7 separate regions of the Homo sapiens genome follow, and all the other regions are linked to region 4. The links are contacts of gene promoters, found by promoter capture Hi-C in blood cells and fetal thymus (Javierre and others, 2016). All regions are on one chromosome and are shown on one strand. The core of a region is centred on a gene start or on the middle of the fragment in contact, and the rest is flanking DNA. Distances in the headings are between cores, read along the strand shown.

What was found. Contacts are between HindIII fragments. The CHiCAGO score rates a contact against its expected background, and 5 or more counts as called.
Region 1: a contact is called between a fragment that was not itself captured here and the fragment with the promoter of SYNM in region 4, in 1 of 17 cell types (endothelial precursors). The highest score is 5.7, in endothelial precursors.
Region 2: a contact is called between a fragment that was not itself captured here and the fragment with the promoter of SYNM in region 4, in 1 of 17 cell types (neutrophils). The highest score is 6.1, in neutrophils.
Region 3: a contact is called between a fragment that was not itself captured here and the fragment with the promoter of SYNM in region 4, in 4 of 17 cell types (naive CD4 T cells, fetal thymus, naive CD8 T cells and 1 more). The highest score is 6.7, in naive CD4 T cells.
Region 5: a fragment that was not itself captured here is called in contact with the fragment with the promoter of SYNM in region 4 in 1 of 17 cell types (M2 macrophages); the score reaches 5.5 in M2 macrophages.
Region 6: a fragment that was not itself captured here is called in contact with the fragment with the promoter of SYNM in region 4 in 4 of 17 cell types (megakaryocytes, M0 macrophages, erythroblasts and 1 more); the score reaches 6.0 in megakaryocytes.
Region 7: a contact is called between a fragment that was not itself captured here and the fragment with the promoter of SYNM in region 4, in 2 of 17 cell types (naive CD8 T cells and total CD8 T cells). The highest score is 5.3, in naive CD8 T cells.

Annotation. Positions count from the first base shown.
Region 1 is chr15:99,729,508-99,732,548 of GRCh38, forward strand. It overlaps LYSMD4 (LysM domain containing 4), which reads right to left. Exons shown (of 3, transcript NM_001284417.2): 2 at 2,211-2,500; 3 at 1-224. The coding sequence starts at 2,492. Among named protein-coding and RNA genes, the nearest start is that of LYSMD4, 2.4 kb to the right of the region's middle. The HindIII fragment of the contact is 3,276 bases long and covers 1-2,888 here.
Region 2 is chr15:99,765,878-99,768,915 of GRCh38, forward strand. No RefSeq gene overlaps it. Among named protein-coding and RNA genes, the nearest start is that of LYSMD4, 34 kb to the left of the region's middle. The HindIII fragment of the contact is 1,268 bases long and covers 636-1,903 here.
Region 3 is chr15:98,495,251-98,498,571 of GRCh38, forward strand. It overlaps the pseudogene FAM169BP. Among named protein-coding and RNA genes, the nearest start is that of LINC02351, 76 kb to the left of the region's middle. The HindIII fragment of the contact is 190 bases long and covers 1,204-1,393 here.
Region 4 is chr15:99,103,167-99,106,329 of GRCh38, forward strand. It overlaps SYNM (synemin), which reads left to right and starts at 1,914. Exons shown (of 4, transcript NM_145728.3): 1 at 1,914-2,843. The coding sequence starts at 2,034. SYNM-AS1 (SYNM antisense RNA 1) reads right to left here and starts at 2,711. Exons shown (of 3, transcript NR_187219.1): 1 at 2,522-2,711. RefSeq lists silencers at 1,664-2,573, 2,854-3,023. The HindIII fragment of the contact is 5,074 bases long and covers 259-3,163 here.
Region 5 is chr15:98,434,937-98,438,071 of GRCh38, forward strand. It overlaps the pseudogene FAM169BP. Among named protein-coding and RNA genes, the nearest start is that of LINC02351, 16 kb to the left of the region's middle. The HindIII fragment of the contact is 5,322 bases long and covers 1-3,135 here.
Region 6 is chr15:98,453,224-98,456,187 of GRCh38, forward strand. It overlaps the pseudogene FAM169BP. Among named protein-coding and RNA genes, the nearest start is that of LINC02351, 34 kb to the left of the region's middle. The HindIII fragment of the contact is 2,102 bases long and covers 248-2,349 here.
Region 7 is chr15:99,700,208-99,703,315 of GRCh38, forward strand. All of the region lies in intron 8 of MEF2A (myocyte enhancer factor 2A), which reads left to right. Among named protein-coding and RNA genes, the nearest start is that of LYSMD4, 32 kb to the right of the region's middle. The HindIII fragment of the contact is 764 bases long and covers 1,359-2,122 here.

The DNA.
Region 1 (3,041 bases), core at 1-2,500, 630 kb after region 4:
AAGCCCATCAGTTGGCCGGCCTGGGCACCGGTGCCCGCGCCTGCTCTGTCTGCCTCTGGCAGTTCCACGGTCACTGTGGTCTCGGAAGACGGGCTCAGAAGGGGTTTCAGTTCTTTGTGGGTCTCCATCAGGATCCCATGGTTTCTCACTGGAATCTTAACAGATTTCAAAGCATATAAGTCTTGTTCTCTGATGAAGTTGTTGACTTTCTTGATATCTGCAACCTAGGAAGGCACGAAGATAAACATCATAAAATATGCGGAGCTCCTTAAAAATAACTTTCCAAAAAGTGGCTCTTAATCTTTCTGGGTGATGATTCAAGCCCACTTCACTGACGAATCTGATGAAGACTGGAAAACTGCAGCTGTACACAAAGTTAGTTTAGGCTGAAATTTTGTTTTTTTGGCTTTCACTCAACCTCAATATATAGTTTAGTAATCAGATATTCCTAAAGATTTACAGGTTTGAACAATTTAAGATCAGTTTTGAAAAACAGATCTTTCTTAAACTGTTTAAAGTGTGACTGCAACAAATCGCTTTGGGCGAAACCACCATGGCACTGAAAGGAATGTTGCAGCCTTTTCCACCTTTCACTTTTGAGGCAATAGTGCCCCCATCTGCCTGCCTTCCCCCTCATGCCAGAACTCAGTGGCTGCCAGATGTTAGCATTCACCAAACACACAGCCTCAGCCAGCTCTGCAGACACACTCAAAATCCAGTTTACCTGTAATAAAGTTGACAGATATGCCCTCGGCATTTTCTTTCCCAGAAACACTGTGGGGCATGTAAACTTATTAAATAAAAGTGACTTACAGTTACTGTACTTAACTGTCAGGAAAAAGGAATAATGCTGTGAGTTTTATCAAGTAACAAAGTTCATGACAAACTCCTCTCATAATCAAACACGAAGATTTAAGAAGCAGGGAGAATGTAAGTCAAAGGGTAACCCCTCCCTCAAACTAATGTTTGAAAACTTTCCAAAAGCATCAGAGATGAACTCCAAACTTTTAACACTTAAGTCCACTTAAACTAGAAAGTGAATACAGCCAACAGATCTCAATCAAATCAATCATTTCCATTATTATTCAGCAACTGCTGTTATTGTAACTGATTTGGGGTAGGGGACATTTTTAATTCACTATGTCCTGAATCTAATGCATGAGACCCTTGAGATCTTTCTGTCTCTGCCTTCAATAAATTAAGAGCAAATTTATTTACTTCAAATAGGAAAACTGATCACTTATCAAAGGCTTTATATATTCTTTACGGATTTAGACATCACCATACCAAGAAGCCTACTCCATCTATTCCGGTCTTTGTAGGACAGGCTTCATTTTTCAGCCCATGTTCTGTAAGCCACACAGTATGCCTGCAGAAGCTGCTTATCGGAGCCAAATATAATTGTCAGTACAATTTAAAGACCACTATGTGTCCCCGGAGACCAACCTGTTTATTTCCCTGAAAGACCGCAACACCCCACACAACATGTTTCAGACATTTGGACCTTGTTAGATAAGACACTTGTAGGAGAAAGAGATTTCTTAAATTAAGTAGCTTATATACCCCTAGAGAAGGCCATACAAATCTGTAGCACAGTGTTAGCAAAGTGAAACAGTTGCAATCTAGGAGAAAATGCAGCAATTCTAGAAATACTTTCCTACTTACTTTGCCATTGTTAATCACTCTGAATGCTGAAAACATAATTAGAGAAAAACAGGGTTATATAGATACACAGCATACAAAAGACCATGCAGTTCTAAACGAGAGAAGGTAAAACTTTACCAAAAGTCAAGTAAGCTACCACCAAGAAAGGTTCAGAAAAATAAGAGCAGCGAGAAAAGCAAGCATACCATAGAAATCCGGAATTAAATTCTGCCTGGTATCTCCAGCCCCATTAGGTCTAAAATAAAATGTGCTCGAAAGAAGAAAAAAGGTTTCAGAATTTCAGTGTGGAGAAAACAGGAAAAGGAGAAGTTCCCTGCAGAGAAAGAAATGCGCTAACCCTCCCTCTTTGGGGGCCAGGGTTGGGAACTAAAGGTACTCCCACCTGCATTCCAATTCTGGCTAAATAGGGGAGTCCTTGGCTGCTACAGCAGGCCTCTCCTGACGGCCTGGCAGGGTTAAGAAGGGCGGCAAGGGCACCCACCCTGCAGTGAGTTCCCCGTGTTCCTTGAAACGGAGCGGGGCAGGGCCCCTGAGGGGTGTCTTACTTTGCAGCCATACTGCAGCGCCAGCTTGTTGAGGCTGTCCTCCTGGGCCAGCTCCCGCTGCAGCAGCACCACGTCACCTGCTCCCGCCTGGGGAGGCTGGTGGACACCGCTCTTGTGGCGCTCCTTGCCCCGGGGCCGCAAAACCACACGGTGAGACTCTTCTTCAGAAGAGTCCCCCGAGTCCCCACTGCCATTCTTAAACATGTATACGTGGCTGGTCGGAGTCCCACACACAACAGCTGGGCCTTGGAAGGTCTTGGTTAACAATTCCTCGTGCCTCATTTTCTTCACTGAAAATCAAGCCGGAGGGTTAATTCCACAGAAGACATAATCATCCCTCCACCGCCTCGTTTAAAGAGAAGTGTCTTGTTAGAGAGTATTCCTTTTCCTAATCGCTGCAAATACTCAGCATACATCATCAACAGAAAAAAAAGAATGTGCTTATGCTGGCTGAGATGGAAGAAGATAGGCAGAATAAAAACCCTTTGTTTTTTCTAATCGCATACGTTTTGTGCAGAAAACGAACCCCGCCCCTGTTCCTCATCCATAGCTGTCTCCCCTAAACCCACATCTGTAAAGAAACAACTACTTTTGCTCTCAGAGTAGTAAGTTGAGATCCTTGCAATGGCAAGTAAGGGCTGCCGCCAGCCTCCGCGCACTCAGAATCTTCAACTCAGAAGCTTTGCACAATAATTTTGTATTCAATATTTTACACATTGCAAAGTATCTTCACTAAGAAGGTCAGCGCTAAGGACTCTTGCTCAGAACTGTGGGGCTAAACTGCTCTTACTTTGACACAGTTTAACTCACAGTATGTGGGGCAAGCTACGG
Region 2 (3,038 bases), core at 20-2,519, 660 kb after region 4:
CAGACCAGTATATGTTATTAAAACACTGGCCGTAAACAGTGTAGGTAGTCTAGCATATATTCATAATTTCTTTGTACAAGCTAAGAAAGAACACATTGATCAAGTCCTTTTCAACATAAATTGTATTTCATGCAAGTTAAAATTAAACAGAAAACTGCATTTAAATAAATGTGAAAGATTCAAATAGAAAATGGCCTTTGGAACTCTTCTTATATTTAGTCATCTATTATGTTTCTTTTAAAAACTATTAGATAAAAAGCTTAGATAGAACAATTAACATAAAATGCTTTTTGGGGAGAGGGGCTCTTTTTTAAACCCTGTTTAGTATCATGATATCCTATTTTATTTTACGTGAGACATTTGCATGGACATATTAATTCCAAAAAGCTAAGTGATCTTATAGACTTTATAGATGAAATACAGCAAGAAACAGAAAGCAAATAATTGCATGACTGTTACTGGCTATATTCCGGGTCTTTAAGAATTTAAGACCGCTATAGATAAATGATATTGCTTGGTACCTGCCCGTCACCAGATTGGAGTGGAGGAATTTAGTATTTAGAAATCTTTTATTTTCTTCTTGCTATTATACAGTGTTATTGAGTTGGTAATCAGTGAACCATCTTGGGCTTTGAAGCTTCCCTTGTGTTATGCTACCCTGCTAGGGTACATAATATGATGGTTTACCGTTCAGCAAAATCTTTTGTTTTCACTCAAAAAAAGCAGTCCCCAGATATATTTAAACTCATAGTATAAATGCCATGGTTTTAATGTACGGTGCCATTTTGTAGGCATAAAAGACAAACAAGGTGTGTTACTGTTTTTGATAACTTTACTCACTTTTATAAAACCTAAGAATAGTTATCTGAAAATATGTCATTCCCTTGGACTGGAATCTAGCCCCCAGACCTGTGACGAAATAAGGATGATTTCAGCACACTGAAGAAACAACGAAGTGAAAGGAAGAGGAGCCCACATAGGGTCCTCTTCATTGTGTTTTAGAAGGTCAAATTCTCTGGTTATTAACAGACAGAGTATTTCAGAGTTTGAAGAGACATTAAGAAACCAGGAATCTACCTCCTCCCTTTTACAGAAAATGATACAAAAGATAATTCTTTGCCATCTCAGTGCCCACGAACGGCTTCCACTTCACCATTCAACCTTGTAGGTGGTAGAGCTGGAGGGCCTGTGTGAGGTGAACAGGCACGAAAAGGACTGAGAGTGGAGAGAATATGGTGGAAGGAGAACACAAACTTCCTGGCAAGAGCCGACTTATTGAGGGAATGACACAAGAAGGAAGTGGTGTACCTGGGTGAAAAATGCACAGGGTAAGGGTGACATTCATAAGAGATTTTCCGAGGCTTGTGGAATTGCTGAGAGCTGGAGAGCTGGTGAGGAGGTGAGAACCAATCTTGATAACTCTTGCTGTGTTATACGTCTGGACCTTATTTTAAATGTTCTTTGAAGGCACAGTGAAGAATTATAGTTATTTCTGAATTCCTATTGGAGGCTAAAACTGCCTTCTTAAACTGGGCAACACATCAGCTACTGTATAAAGTGGGTCTCTAAAATGATAGTTTATAGTCATATAAAGAAACAGATATCAGGAAAGAGAAGATATTTATCTAATGAGTTGATCTCTTCAGTCACAACAGTCAGTTTGGATAATGTTATTCACCAGTGCATTCTTCTTTCCTTTCTAATCATCCCCAAGTTTATCTCCTCTGAGGCTCACGCTCAGCAGCACAGATTGATTTACTGAACTATATAAAAGTAGCTGCTCTCCTACCACAAAAACTCCAAACCTTCTTTCTTTTAAACTTTCTTTCATAATAAAATAATGTAAGGCAACCTTTCTAATGTGAAGACAACTTTACTAAGTCAGTTGTAGAGACAGAAGAGAAGCTTGGCTGGTAATAGTGATAACACTGCACAGTTACACATTTTACAGAAATCTAGGAGTTTATTTATGAGCATGTGTGGAAATGAATAAATGACATTTGTATAGTGCTTACTATATGCCAGGTATTTTTTTAACTGTATCATACAGTTAACCATTCGATATTTACAGTATGTTCAGGAGACAGGTTCTGTTGGGATCATTTCATTTTACGTAGAAGAAACTAAGGCATCGAGCGTTTAAGTGACTTGTTCAAGTTCACTTCTTTGGCAAATGGCGGAGAGGGGATGTTGAGCCAGAGACCACCTGCTCAACCACTGCCTACATTGCTTTTATTGACTTAAAATTACAAAATGTTTAATTAAAATACCTGTTAGGTATTCTTCATATTTACATTATCTTGGCAAGTAATATAATGATCATAGCTAAATAAATGCTGCATAACTTACTGAAATGAGAAAATTGCTTTGAGTATGTTGAAAAATACAGTAGATCGTGCATATTATGTTACACTATTACTTCACTAACGAAGGACTTCACTATGGCTAGTCCCATGGATAACCAGCCAAGGTCATGTCTCGAAAGCAATGCTCTTTCCACAAATGTGGTCTGAATCACAAAGCTTTACCTGCATAAATTATATTGTATTTTATTTTGAATGTACTTCAGAAATTTGGAATTGTACTTTGGTACCGTAGACATTGCCTACTCTCGTATCCTTTATGACATGGCTGTGAGGATGGGATGTATATATATAATATATATACACATACACTATATATGTAGTATATATAATATATATACATATGCTGTATATGTAGTATATATTATATATACATATACTGTATATGTAGTATATATAATATATACACATACTGTATATATAGTATATGTACTTATATATACTAATATAGTGTATATATAGTAAATATACTATATATACTATATATACTCTATATACACTATACTATATATATACTATACATATACTCTCTATATAGTATATTTTTTATATATATACTATACATATACTCTCTATATAGTATATATATTTTTTATATATACATATATGTGTGTATATATATGTAGTCTTTACTTCTCTAACATTTATACTCATTGAGGAGAGTTGGCCTTTTCC
Region 3 (3,321 bases), core at 49-2,548, 610 kb before region 4:
TTTGCATTTCACTGATGATTTGTCGTGTTGAGCATTTTTTCATATATCTATTGGCCATTTGTATGTCTTCTTTTAAGAGATTTGTATTCAGCTCATTTGCCCATTTTTTAATCGGATTATTTGTTTTTTTTTTTTTTTTTTTTTTTTTGCTGTTGAATTATTTGAGCCCCTTGTATATTCTGGATGCTAATCTCTTGTCGGATGAATAGTTTCCAAATATTTTATTTGATTCTGCAAGTTGTCTCTTCATTCTGTTGTTTATTTTTCTGTGCAGAAGATTTTTAGTTCAGTATAATCTCACTTGCCTTATTTTGATTTTGTTTCCTGTGCTTTTGAGATCTTCTCCATAAAATATCTGCTCAGAGCAATGTCCTGAAGCATTTCCTCTGTGCTGTCTTCTACTATTAATAGTTTCATAGTTCCAGGTCTTACATTTAAGTCTTTAATCTATTTTGAGTTGAATTTTGTATATGGTGACAAATAGGGGGACTAGTTTCATTCTTCTGCTTATAAATATCCAGTTGTCTGAGCACCATTTACTAAAGAGACTGTCCTTTCCCCCAATGAATGTTCTTGGTACATTTTTCAAAAATCAACTGTCTGTAAGTATATCGGTTTATTTCTGGGTTCTCTATTCTGTTGCATTGGTCTACATGTCTGCTTTTATGACAGTACCATGTTGTTTGGGTTACTACACCTTTGTAGAATATATTGAAGTCCAGTAGTTTGATGCCTCCAGCTTTGTTCTTTTTGCTCAGTATTGCTTTGGCTATTCGAAGTCATTAGTAGTTCCAAATCAATTTTAGAATTTTTTTCTATTTCTGTGAAGAATGCCATTGGTATTTTGATAAAGAGTACACTGAATCTATAGATTGCTTTTGGTAGTATGGTCATTTTCACAATATTAATTTATCCAACCCATGCACATGGAATGTCTATTTTTTGTGTATCCTCTTCAATTTTTTCATCAGTATTTTATGTTTTCCCTTGTGGAGCTCTTTGACCTCCTTGGTTAAATTTATTCCTAGTTTCTGTGTGTCTCTGTATGTGTGTGTGTGTCTACTGTAAATGGATTTCCTTTCTCGATTTCTTTTTCCACAAGTTTGTCATGGATGTATTGAAATACTACTGATTTTTATGTTGATTTTTGTATCCTGCAACTTCACTGAATTGGTTTATCAGTTCTAAAAGCTTTTTTGGTGAAGCTTTCATGGTTTTCTATATATAAGATCATGCCATCTGCAAACAGGGACAATTTGACTTCCTCCTTTCCAACTTAGATGACCCTTCTTTCTCTCTTTTGAATAGTTGCTATAGCTAGGTCTTCTAGTACCATGTTAAATAAAAGTGTTAAAAGAAGGCATCTTTATCTTACTCCAGATCTTAGAGGTAAAGCTTTCAAATTTTCCACATTTGGTATGATGTTGGTTAGGGGTGTGTCATATATGGGCTTTATTGTGTTGAGGTAGGTTCCTATTATACCTAACTTGTGAGCTTTATCATGAGACAATGTTGAATTTTGTCCAATACTTTTTCTGTGTCTTTTGAGGTGCTAATATGGTTTTTATCCTTGATTCCACTGATGTATCACATTTATTGATTTGCATATGTTGAACCATCTTTGCATCCGGGAGATGAATCCTACTCGATCATGGTGAACAACAATTTAATGCATTGTTGAATTGGTTTGCTAGTATTTTGTTGAGAACATGTACAATTATGTTCATCAAGGATATTGGCCTATAGTTTCCCTTTTTTGTTGTTGTTGTTGTGTCTTTGACTAGTTATGATATCAGGGTAATTCTGATCTCATAGAATGAGTTTGGAAAAATTTCCTCCTCTTTAATTTTCTGAAAGAGTTTGAGAAGAATTTGTATTAGTTATTCCTGAAATGTTTGGTAGAATTCAACAGTGAAGCCATCAGATCCTGGGCTCTTCTTTGATGAGAGACTTTTTATTACTGATTCAATCTCATTACTCACCTATCAACAATAACCTTGATAGGTCTCTTTAAGTTTTCTCTTTCTTATTTGGTTCAATCTTGGTAGGTTCTATGTGTCCAGAAATATACATATATTGCTGCTAGCTTTTCAAATTTGTTGTAAAGTTGTTTGTAATATTCTCTAATGATCCCGTGTATTTCTGTGGTATCAGTTGTAATTGTCCCTTTTCATTTCTGATTTTATTTATTTGGATATTTTTTTCTTGGTTTTTTTTTTTTTTTTTTTTTTTTTTTTTTATGAGACGGAGTCTTGCTCTGTCGCCCAGGCTGGAGTGCAGTGGCGCGATCTCGGCTCACTGCAAGCTCCGCCTCCCGGGTTCACGCCATTCTCCTGCCTCAGGCTCCCGAGTAACTGGGACCACAGGCGCCCGCCACCGCGCCCGGCTAATTTTTTTGTATTTTTAGTAGAGATGGGGTTTCACCGTGTTATCCAGGATGGTCTCGATCTCCTAACCTCGTGATCCGCCCGTCTCGGCCTCCCAAAGTGCTGGGATTACAGGCGTGAGCCACCGCATCCGGCCTTTTTATCTTATCTGTTAAAAAAAAAACTAACTTTTATTTGTTGATCTTTTGTATTTTATTTAGTCTCAATTTATTTTATTTCTGCTCTACTCTTTATTATTTCTTTTCTCCTACTTATTTTGAGTTTGTTTTGTTCTTGCTTTTCTAGTTCCTTGAGATGCATTGTTGGGTTATTTGAAATATTTTTACTTTTTTGATGTAGGTGTTTATTGCTATAAACTTCCCTCTTGGAACTGCTTTTGCTATCTCCCAAAGGTTTTGGTATGTTGTGTTTCTATTTTCATTTGTTTCAATAAACTTTTAAATTTCCTTCATAGTTTCTTCATTGACTCCTTGGTCATTTAAGAGCATGATGCTTAATTTCCATGTATTTATACTATTTCTAATGTCCCTCTTGCTATTAATTTCCAGTTTTATTCCACTGTGGTCAGAAAAGATACTTGATATGATTTCAATTCTTTTAAATTTGTTTAGACTTTTTTTGTGGCCTAACATGTGGTCTATCCTGGAGAATGTTCCACGTGCTGATGAAAAGAATGTGTGTTCTGCAGCTGTTGGATGAAATATTCTATAAATGTCTGCTAAGTCTATTTGGTCTAAAGTGCAATTTAAATCTAATGTTTCTTTGTTGATTTTCTGTCTAAATGATCTGTCCAGTGCTGACAGTTTGGTGTTGAAGCACTCACCTATTATTGTATTATAGCATATATCTCCCTTTAGATCTAATAATATTTGCTTCATATATCTGGGTGTTCTGGTGTTGGATGAATATAGATTTATTATTGTTATATCCTATT
Region 4 (3,163 bases), core at 664-3,163:
GATGGACAATGATGGGGTGATGGGGGTCCAAATCCCCCTGTCCCACACCAAGGTGAATGAACCCAAGCACTGAATAAACCCACTTTCCACCCCCACTTAGTTTTAGCAGAAAAGGACAGGGAATTATTCATTGAAAGATATTAATTTCTACCACCTACAGAATGGGATCTCCAACATAGGGTCTCTAGAAAAAGGAAGGGCCACTTTCTGCCTTGCTTGTGATTGGAGGCTCATGGCTGTGACAAGGAGAGCACTAGAAGCTTTGTCAGAGGCCCTGGACCAGCTTGCTGAGTAGTCCACCTTTCCATGCCATCTGTAAAATACACTAACTGCTGGCCCTGCCATGAGGAGCCCTCTGGCCAGTGGATGACCGTCCAGGTCTCGCCCTGGGCACTTGTGTTGCCACAAGTTCAAGGGCACCCCAACCAAGGGTCAGCTGGTTTGTCCCTGTGAGCCTTAATGACACTTATACTGAGAACTGTCATTCATAAATAACTGCCATGAAAACTAATGAAATGCAAGTGTACAAAAAAGAGCTGTGGTTTCCATGGCAATTAAACTGAATACTTTCTTAGGGAAATGCTGGAAAGAAACAGCTGTCACATTAGGGGTGTGTGTGTGAGATTTGTAAAAGTTCGGGGAGATGTTAGATGTCTAGAAAGTTCTGTACTTGGAGCACTTTATGGTCTCTAAGTTTTCACTCCAAATGAAAGAAATTCGTTTTGGAAAATGTAATGTACTATGAGGGTAGCTTGTATAAGAAGGGCAACTGGGACTCCTGTCAACTGACATCAAGAGAAGTATTTTGCACATTAAAATACTGGTAAATGGATATATATTTATGTTTTAAGTTAAAAAGATTATTTAGGCTGGGCACGGTAGCTCACGCCAGTAATCCCAGGACTTTGGGAGGCCGAGGTGGGCGGATCACCTGAGGTCGTGAGTTCGAGACCAGCCTGACCAACATGGAGAAACCCCGTCTCTACCAAAAATACAAAAAAAAAAAAAAAAAAAAAAAAAAAAAATTAGCCAGGCGTGGTGGCGCTGGCCTGTAATCCCGGTTACTCGGGAGGCTGAGGCAGGAGAATCGCTTGAACCCGGGAGGCGGAGGCTGTGGTGAGCCGAGATCGTGCCATTGCACTCCAGCCTGGGCAACAAGAGCGACACTCTGTCTCAAAAAAAAAAAAAAAAAAATTAATGCACATGTATGTGTAATGTATATATATGAGATGAGGCCTCTCTCTGTTGCCCAGGCTGGAGCGCAGTGCCACAATCAGGTTCACTGCAGCCCTGAACTCCTGGGTTCGAGTAATCCTCCCGCCTCAGCCTCCCAAGCAGCGCGTGTGACACCACCACGCCAGGCTCCATATATATATATATATATATATATTTTTTTTTTTTTTTTTTTTTTGGTAGAGACAGGGTCTCTCTATGTTGCTCAGGCTGGTCTCGAACTCCTGGGCTCAAGCGAGCCTCCCACCTCGGCTTCCCAAAATGCTGGGATTATAGGCCTGAGCCACCGCGCCCGGCCCATATCGTTTTTTTAAAAATAGAAAAGCCACCAATCTCCAGGGCCTCGGGTAAGAAGTCGCTCCAAAATCGCCAGCACCACAGCAACTCAATAGGCTTCTATTTCCATCCACCAAGGCCAGGACACTCGTATGCTCCCGGACGCCCTCTCCGGCGTCCCTTCGCTGAGCCCGGCCTGGCTAGCCCGCCACCCCGCCCGCTGTTACCCGACTGCCCGCACCGACCACCTGCGGCCGCCAAGGTGCGGCAGGGGGCGCTGTGCGGCCGCAGAGGCCGCGCCGGGCCGCGCTCTGATTGGCTGGAGGCCGCGGCCCTCGCCCAGGCCGCCCGCCCAGTCTGCCCGCCCCGTCCGCTAAGTGCCTGGGCTCTCCCGCTCGCGTCCCAGTCTGCGGGCCTCCGGGGCAGCGGCGAGGCCGGAGCGTCGCGGCGGAGAGGACGAGACCGGGACAAGACCAGGGCAGGAGGGAGCCGGCCAGCCGCGAGAACCCCGCACGCCCGGCAAGATGCTGTCCTGGCGGCTGCAGACGGGCCCCGAGAAGGCCGAGCTCCAGGAGCTCAACGCCCGGCTCTATGACTACGTGTGTCGGGTGCGGGAGCTGGAGCGCGAAAACCTACTCCTGGAGGAGGAGCTGCGCGGCCGGCGCGGGCGAGAGGGCCTGTGGGCCGAGGGGCAGGCCCGCTGCGCCGAGGAGGCGCGCAGCTTGCGGCAGCAGCTGGACGAGCTGAGCTGGGCCACTGCGCTGGCGGAGGGCGAGCGGGACGCTCTGCGGCGCGAGCTGCGGGAGCTGCAGCGCCTGGATGCGGAGGAGCGCGCCGCCCGCGGCCGCCTGGACGCCGAGCTGGGTGCGCAGCAGCGCGAGCTGCAGGAGGCGCTGGGCGCGCGCGCCGCCCTCGAGGCGCTGCTGGGCCGGCTGCAGGCCGAGCGCCGAGGCCTCGACGCGGCCCACGAACGCGACGTGAGGGAGCTGCGCGCGCGCGCCGCCAGCCTTACCATGCATTTCCGCGCCCGCGCCACCGGCCCCGCCGCGCCGCCGCCACGCCTGCGGGAGGTGCACGACAGCTACGCACTGCTGGTGGCCGAGTCGTGGCGGGAGACGGTGCAGCTGTACGAGGACGAGGTGCGCGAGCTGGAGGAGGCGCTGCGGCGCGGCCAGGAGAGCAGACTCCAGGCGGAGGAAGAGACGCGGCTGTGCGCGCAGGAGGCAGAGGCGCTGCGGCGCGAGGCGCTCGGGTTGGAGCAGCTGCGCGCGCGGCTGGAGGACGCGCTGCTGCGGATGCGCGAGGAGTACGGGATACAGGCCGAGGAGCGGCAGGTCCGTGCGCGGGGATGGCGCGCTGACCCCATACCCGCTGCCGTCGCCCCAGCACCCTGCCCTTGACGGCGTGGGGCAGCGGCCCCTTCACCAGGGGCGCGGCGTCGCGGACCGGTAGGGCCCGCCCAGAGGGTGCCCGAATGGCATGGGGACCCGGACTCGGTCCGCTGGTCCATCGACTCAGCGGGCGAGCGCGGGGCGGCAGGTCCTAGCGGATAGCCCCGTCCTCGTCATGGGGTTAGGTGGCAGCTGCTTTAACTCTTGACAAGCGTGACTGGGCGCATCCTGATAGGCCACCCTGTTAGCTCTAGGTTTTCCTT
Region 5 (3,135 bases), core at 522-3,021, 670 kb before region 4:
TCACCCCACTGCACTCCAGCCTGGGCGATAGAGCAAGACCCTGACTCAAAAACAAACCAAACCAAAACAAAACAAAACAAAATTAAAACTGTACTTCAAATGACATCAATAAAATGAAACGAGAAACCAAAGAATGGGGAAAAAAACTGCAAATCGTATATCCAAAAAGGGATTAAAATCAGAATTTATAAAGAATTCTTACAAATCAACAAGATAAAAACAACGCAATTCAAAAATAAGTGAGGATTTGAATAGACATTTCTCCAAAGAAGATAACACAAATGACTGAAAAGCTGTTTGACATCAGTAGTCACCAGGGCAATGCAAATCAGCACCACGGTAAGATGCCACTTCCCACCCACTAGGATGGTGGCTGTATCAAAAAGACGGAATAGGCCCCGGGCGCGGTGGCTCACGCCTGTAATCCCAGTACTTTGGGAGACCGAGGTGGGTAGATCACGAGGTCAGGAGTTCGAGACCAGCCTGGCTAACATAGTGAAACCCCATCTTTACTAAAAATACAAAAAATTAGCCAGGCATGGTGTCAGGCGCCTGTAATCCCAGCTACTTGGGAGGCTGAGGCAGGAGAATCGCTTGAACCTGGGAGGCGGAGGTTGCCGTGAGCTGAGATCACGCCATTGCACTCCAGCCTAGGGGACAAGAGCGAGACTTTGTTTCAAAAAAAAAAAAAGATGGAATAAGTGTTGGCTGGGATGAGGGAAGCGGAAACCCTCATACCTGGCTGATAAGAATGTAAAATGGTGCAGGGACTTGGAAAAATAATTTGGCAGTTCCCCAAAATGTTAAACATAGAGTTACCATATGACCCAGAAATTCCACTCTCAGATGTGTACCCAAGAGAACTGAAAACATATGTACACACACAAACTTGTATTTTGTTTTTTTTTTTTTTTTTGAGACGGCGTGTTGCTCTGTCGCCCAGGCTGGAGTGCAGTGGCACGATCTCGGCTCACTGCAAGCTCCACCTCCCGGGTTCATGCCATTCTCCTGCCTCAGCCTCCCGAGTAGCTGGGACTGCAGGTGCCCGCCAGCACGCCCGGCTAATTTTTTTGTATTTTTAGTAGAGACGGGGTTTCACCGTGTTAGCCGGGATGGTCTCGATCTCCTGACCTCGTGATCCACCCGCCTTGGCCTCCCAAAGTGCTGGGATTACAGGCGTGAGCCACCGCGCCCGGCCATAAACTTGTATTTGTGTATGTGTATATTCATGGCAGCATCATTGATAACTACCAAAACCTCAAATCAATCCAAATTACATCACCTAGCGAATGCCAAAATACAGTGTTCTACATCCATACCACGGGACGTTATTTGGCAATAAGAAGGAGTAAGAACTGATGACACGCACCACAACACGGATGAACCTTGGAAAAATTATGCTACGTGAAAGATGCCAGCTGTGAAAGACCCCGTATTGTGTGATTCCACTTACATGACATACCCGGAAGAGGCAAATTTATATATAGATTAGTGGCTGCCGAGGGCAGGAGGAGGGGGTAAGTGGGGAGTGAGAGACTCATGGGCGCAGTATTTCATTTTGGGGCACTAATGGTGGTGATGAGGGCACAGCTCTGTAAATATACTAAAAATCATTGCATTATTACTTTTTTTTTTTTTGAGACAAGGTCTCACTCTATCACCCAGGCTGTAGTGCAATGGCACGATCTCCACTCGATGCAGCCTCAACCTCCCGGGCTCAAGCAATCCTCCCACCTCAGCCTCCCAAGTAGCTGGGACTATAGGCGCAGGCCACCACACCCGGCTGATTTTTGTATTTTTGTAGAGTCAGAGTTTCACCACGTTGGCCAGGCTGGTCTTGAACTCCTGAGCTCAAGTTATCCACATGCCTCTTCCTCCCAAATTGCTGGGATTACAGGTGTAAGCCACCTCGCCGGGCCTGAATTATTACTTTAAATGAGGGAACTTTAAGGTTTGTAAATAATATCTCAATACAGCTGTTAAAAAATAAGAGACAGGAACACAGAAAACCGAAAAATAAAATTGATTTAATAAAAACAACACAACACACACAAAGATGTGCATTATGGGCAGTCCTGCACACACTGCTGGAAGGGACCCCTGCACACGGCCTCACAGCTGGCATGGACTGGGCAGGAGGTTGCTCTCAGTTCCACGGCATTGCCTTCTAACTTGTGTGGTCAGTACATATGCCCTTAAACAAAGCCATCAATACATCAGCTGTTCTTCCCTGAGAGGTTTCTTTTATTGAATAGTAACTTCATCAAACCCCTGAGACATTTTTAAACATTTATTTTCATGTAAACACAAAATACTAACCATTCATCTCAAATAGCACAATGCTCACAGCACACACATCCCATGTGAAAGGTTACATCTGACACCACACACAGGGCACCCTCTAGGCTGTAGACTTCACTCTCCTTTTATGGTCTGTGCCACCTGCACAGAGAGCCCAAGTATAAGGGGCAGGGGGGAGGCAGGCTTCATGATGTCTCCATATGAATCTCTAAACTATATTTCTAGTCAATTGGACCCTTCCATCTTTGTAATGGGTGCAAGAGAGATGAAAACTCCAGTGGAACACTCCAGAAGAGATTCCTCCAAAGAGAAGAGAGTTTCCTGAGGCCAGTATCCATACCTCACTTATATCCCCTGTCCCCAGCACAGAGCATGTCCCTGAGAAAGCATGCTGAATATCTGTTGTACAACAGAATGGATGGATGGATGGATGGACGGATGGATGACGGATGGAGGATGGATGGATGGATGGAGGATGGGTGGATGGATGGATGGATGGATGATGGATGGATAGAGGATGAATGGATGGATGGAGGATGGACGGATGGATGATGGATGGATGGATGATAAATGTATGGATAGATGGATGGCTGGATGAAGGATGGATGGATGGATGGATGGATGGAAGATGGAGGATGGATGGATGGATGATGGATGGGTGGATGGATGGATGGATGGGTGGATGGATGGATAGATGGATGGATGGAGGATGGATGGATGGAAGATGGATGGAGGATGGATGGATGGATGGATGGATGGATGATGGATGGAGGATGGATGGATGGATGATGGATGGAGGATGGACGGATGATGGATGGATAGATGGATGAATGG
Region 6 (2,964 bases), core at 49-2,548, 650 kb before region 4:
GGGAATGTCTCGCCAGCCCCAAGCAGCAGAGCCACCTGACAGGCAGGTTACCATGGATAAACAGCAAGCCCAGCTAGACTAGAAAATCACCCAGCTGAGCTCAGCCTAAAATGCCAAGCAAAAGAATTGTTAGCTAAATAAGCAGTTACTATTTCATACCAAAAATGAATTTAAAAATAAATAATCTACAGCCAATAAGGAAGTTCATTTCTCTTGAGACAGTAACTATAAAATATTTGGGATTTCAAGCTTGATGCGCTTGAGATGACAGTACCAACTTGCTTGCAATTATATTATTTCAATATATAGAAGATGAGAGCAATGTTCTTGTAATTGTGAAGTCTTCCAAAACTAAAAGGCTTTAATATTAAATAAAGATGCAATTTAATTTACAATAGCATTAAAAAGAAGTAAATAATTAAGAGTATGTTTAACAAAAGAATCTTGAACACCAAAAACTACAAGACATTGTTGAGAGAAATTAAAGAAGAGCTAAATAAATGAAGAGAAATTCCATGTGCATGGATTGGATGACTCAATTCTTACAATAATTCTTCCCAAAATGATCTGTAAACTCAATGCTGGCTCTATCAAAATCCTCTTTGTAATTCTACAACTAAGCATATGAAAGGATGCTCCACATCATATGCTATTAGGAAATCACAAATTTAAACAATGAGATGCCACTACACACCTATTAGAATAGCCAAATTATTTTTTTTTTGAGACAGAGTTTCGCTCTTATTGCCCAGGCTGGAATGCAATGGCGCGATCTCAGCTCACTGCAACCTCCGCCTCCTGGGTTCAAGCGATTCTCCTGCCTCAGCCTCCCAAGTAGCTGGGATTACAGGCATGTGCCACCATGCCCAACTAATTTTTGTATTTTTAGTAAAGACAGGGTTTCGCCATGTTGGTCAGGCTGGTCTCGAACTCCTGACCTCAGGTGATCCGCCTGCCTCGGCCTCCCAAAGTGCTGGGATTACAGGTGTGAGCCACCACACCTGGCCTAGAATAGCCAAATTCTTTAACACAGACAACAACAAATGCTGGTGAGGATGTGGAACAACAGGAACTGTCATTCATTGCTTGTCAGAATACAAAATGGTGCAGCCACTTTGGAAGGCATTTTGGCAGTTTCTTACAGAACTAAACATACTCTTACCTTGTGATTCAGCAGTCACACTCCTTGATATTTACTCAACGGAGTTGAAAACGATGTTCACACAAAAATCTGCACACAAATATTTATTCATAATTACTAGAACTTAGAAGCAATCAGGATGTACTTCGGACGGTGAGTGGATAAACTGTGGCTTATCCAGTCAATGTAACATTATTCTGCACTAAAAAGAAATGAGTTATTACTATAAAAAGATATAGAAAAACCATAAGGGCATATTACTAAGTGAAAGAAGCTAACTGAACAATGACATTCCATTGGATTCCAACTACAGTAATGTGCTTCATAAAGACGTTTCAGTCAACAATGGACCACATGTGCAATGGAGATCCCATAAGATTAAAATACAGCTGAAAAATTCCTGTCGCCTAGTGATAGTCATAGGCATCATAAAGTCGTAATGCAACACGCTATTCATGTGTTTGTGGTGATGCTGGGGTAAACACACCTACCACACTGCCAGTCATATAAAAGTCTAGCACATACAGGCGGGCATGGTGGCTCATGCCTGTAATCCCAGCACTTTGGGAAGCCGAGGTGGGAGGATCACTTGAGGTCAGGAGTTTGAGACCAGCCTGGCTAACATAGTGAAACCCCATCTCTACCAAAAATATAAAAAAAATTAGCCAGGTGTGGTGGCATGCACCTGTAATCCCAGCTACTCAGGAGGCTGAGGCAGGAGAATTGCTTGAACCCAGGGGGCAGAGATTGCAGTGAGCCGAGATTGCACCACTGCACTCCAGCCTGGGCAAGAGAACAAGCCTCTGCCAAAAAAAAAAAAAAAGTCTAGCACATACAATTATGCACAGTACCTAATACCCAATAATGATAATAAATGACTGATACTGGTTTATGTATTTACTATACTATATTTGTATTGTCATTTTAGAGCGTACACCTTCTACTCATTATAAAAACAAAATTAACTGTAAAGCAGCCTCAGGCAGGTCCTCTAGGAGGTATTCCAGAAGAAGGCAGTTATCCTAGGAAATGATAGCTCCACGCATGTTACTGCCCCTGGAGACCTTCCAGTGGGACAAGATGTGGAAGTGGAAGACAGTGATATTGACAATCCTCACCCTGAGTAGGCCTAGGCTAAGGAGTGTGTTTGTCTCTTTGCTTTCAGCAAGAAATATTTTTAAACTTAAAAAAAAATTTTTTTTAATTAAAGCTTATAGAATAAGAAAATATTTATGTGCAGCTGCATAATGTATTTATGTTTTAGCCAAGTGTTATTACAAAAGAGTCAAAAAGTTAAAAAAATCAAAAAGTTTTTGTAAAGTAAAAAGGTTACAGTAAGCTACAGTTCATTTATTATTGAAGGAAAAAGTAGACATTTAGTGTAACCTACGTGTACAGTGTTTCTAAAGTGCACAGTAGTGCACAGTACTGTCCTAGGCCTTCACATTCACTCACCACTCACTCACTCCCTGAATCACCCAGAGAAACTTCCAGTCCTGCAGCTCCACTCACGGTAAGTACTCTACACGAGCATACTGTTTTTAAATCTCTTTACTGTACCTTTTCTATATTTACATATGTTTAGATACAGAAATACCATTATGTTACAATTGCCTCCAGTAATGAGTACAGTAACGAGCTATACAGGTTTGTAGCCTAGAGATGACAGGCCATACTCCACAGCCTAGGAGTGCAGCAGGCTCTGCCATCAAGTCTTATGTGAATACATTCTATCATGTTCACACAATGATGCAATTGCCTAACAATGCATTCCTCAAAACATATCCCTGTGGCTAAGTGACAAATGACTGTATATTACATTC
Region 7 (3,108 bases), core at 491-2,990, 600 kb after region 4:
ACACACATATGTACGTATGTGTCTGGCTGGGCACAGTGGCTCGTGCCTGTAATCCCAGCACTTCGGGAGGCTGAGGCGGGCAGATGTTGAGCTCAGGAGTTTGAGACCAGCCTGGCCAACATGGCGAAACCCCGTCTCTACTAAAAATACAAAAATTAGTCGAGTGTGGTAGGATGCCCCCATAGTCCCAGCTACTTGGGAGGCTGAGGTGAGAGGATCGCTTGAGCCCAGGAAGTCGAGGCTGCAGTGGCCTATGATTGTACCACTGCACTCCAGCCTGGCTGACACAGCGAGACCCTGTCACACACACACAAAAAAGGTACAGTTGTGTGTACATATGAATTAGTATACATCATATATTTCCTAGCTCTGTTTGCTGAGAGGTCTGTGAGGCAATAGCATCCAGTAACTGAACATACCTGGTGCTCAGATTTTAGTTTCAGAACACCATTTTCTAATACAAGGACTCAGGGCTGCTTGGAAAAAAATGGTTTGTTGTAGAGCTGGGGCAGGGAAACGGGATGAGCCGGGGTTGTCAGAGGTTAAGAAAGTGCGTATCAAAAGTCACGGGAGCTGGCCTTTCAAAAGAGTTTCCAGTGGCCAAAACTAGAACAATTTGAGTAACAAAATAACAATAGTATTGGATTATAGCCCAGGGAATAAAAAACATTGAGTCCATTACTGATATAAATAAATGATAGAATAAATAAGGGGAAAAAGGGACAACTCTTCCTTAGAAAATAACTAATTAATAAATGTAGAAAGAATGAGAGAGAGTAAATCAGCATTAGAACACCACAGTACAATGGTAATTGTTGCAGGCAAAGTCAGTGGATAAATGCTAACATAAGTGGGCAAAAAGTTTAAGTAAAAAGCTATTTTGCTTTGTCTCAGAATGTCTCTTCCCCAATATTCATTTCTTACAAAGGGAAAAATTAGAGAATTAGAAATAAGAGAATCCTGGAAAACACTGCCTTAACCGGAGGATCAAGGTTAACATCACCAGTAATGGGACATAAAGACAACATGTGCCTTCCAATATGACATGCTAAGAAAGCCATGTCTCTTTGTGGTATTCTTGCAAAAATCCATGCCCTTCTATCTGATTATGAATGAAAATCAGACCCAAATTGAGAGACATTCTATAAGATAACTGATCAGCACTCTTTCAAAACAAGTTGTCAAGGTCATGCAAAACAAGTTGTCAAGGTCATGAAAAGGAAAGACTGAGGAACTGTCACAGAGCAGAGGAGACGAAGGAGATGTGAGAACTAAAGGCTTGTGGGATCCAGGATCTGATCCTGGGTCAGGAAAAAGGACATCAGTTGAAAGACTGGTGAAATCCAAGTAAAGTCCAAAGCTTTAATTGGTGCTGTATTATTTTTATTAGTTTCGACAACTGCATTGTATTTCCTTGTGATGTTAACAATGTGGAAAGCTGAGTGAGATGTGAGGGAGCTCTCTTTGTAAATGCTGTCTAAAATTATTTCAGAATAAATAGTTTAAAATATATACATACATACATAACAAAGAAATACACCCCAAAAGGGAGCCAAGAAAAAATGGCATTTAGGATGGTCCCATAGCTCACCTTTCAGGTACTGGATATGCAATACTTGCTACTGTCTTTCAGAAATAAACTCTACAAAATGTCATGTAGGGTACAGAAATGTTTACAAGAATTGTTAGTAAACTGCCAATTTAGAGACAAACTCCATTTAAGCATTTTAGCAATTGCTTAATAAAGTTATGTCTGATTGTTAGGAGAGCATGAAGGATCTCCATGGAAAACTCAAAATGTGTCGTATGAACTATTTACACGCTTATTCCTGTATATTAAAGTGAAAACCATATGTTTTACACATACACAGCTATAATGTTAGACAGTATATTTTGGTGTGTACCTTGTGTTTGGAGATATGTAAAGATATCTATAACAAAACAGTTGAATAGCATCTTGCCCACATTGGAGATAGCAGTTGTAGATCAAGTGATTGTTTTTCAGAGTAAGTAATCGGTCCCACCTACTTTACACACACCATTTACAGAGAAACCTTCTTCCAGATTAGGGCTTCATGTATCAGTGGCACTTACAATGACACTTTTCACAGACTGACAGAGAAGCTTAACTTACTCAAGTAAAACAAGTAAAAACTGATTAGACTGTTTCTAGCATGTTAATATTTTCTAAATGTTATGGAGAAAAGGAGCAAAAATGTTTCTTTTTTTTTTTTTTTTTGGACGGAGTCTCACTCTGTCACCCAGGCTGGAGTGCAGTGGCGTGATCTCAGCTCACTGTAACCTCTGCCGCCCGGGTTCAAGCAATTCTCCTGCCTCAGTCTCCTGAGTAGCTGGGATTATAGGCACCTGCCACCGCACCTGGCTAATTTTTGTAGTTTTAGTAGAGACAAGGTTTCACCATCTTGGCCAGGCTGGTCTTGAACTCCTGACGTGAGCCACCGTGCCCAGCCTTATTTCTTTTCTTTACATGACTTATGAATTCATTTCTCCTTCAGTCTCATTTTCTTCAAATATGTGGTTTTTCTCCATTGAAGTCATTTTATTCACATGAAAATATATTTGCAAATGATAAACATATATAAAACTGGTATTTAAAACTCATGTATTTATTAACAAATGTTTGTGTTCCTGTTGTTTTATAACTGCTAGCTCCTGCGGGAAATAAAACATACAGCAGTTTCTTTCTGCCAAGAAGCAGAATTCAGTAGGAGATAGATAACATGTATCACCAGGTGGGGTAATAGTAGGGTGATTAAGATACAGAGTTACAAGTACAGAGTTGATATTCTCACAGTTCCAAATACAGATCGATAGCATGATGAGGAACCCCTTTTAAATACTGTTGCAGTAGCATGACTATGTATAAGAGGCCAGCATGAGAGCAGACCAAGTTGGGGTAGGAGGGTGTCTTTGAATACTGGCCCTAGAGAATTTAAAATAATTTTTCTAGTCTTTTGAAAACTCAACAAGTAGAGACAAGTAATTTATATTTCTATCTGTTGTGTATATAATCGTCTCTTTAGAGTTCCAGACAGCTGCTAGTGTCCAAATATGTTTTTTCTAAAGAAATATTTTGTTTGTGAGTAC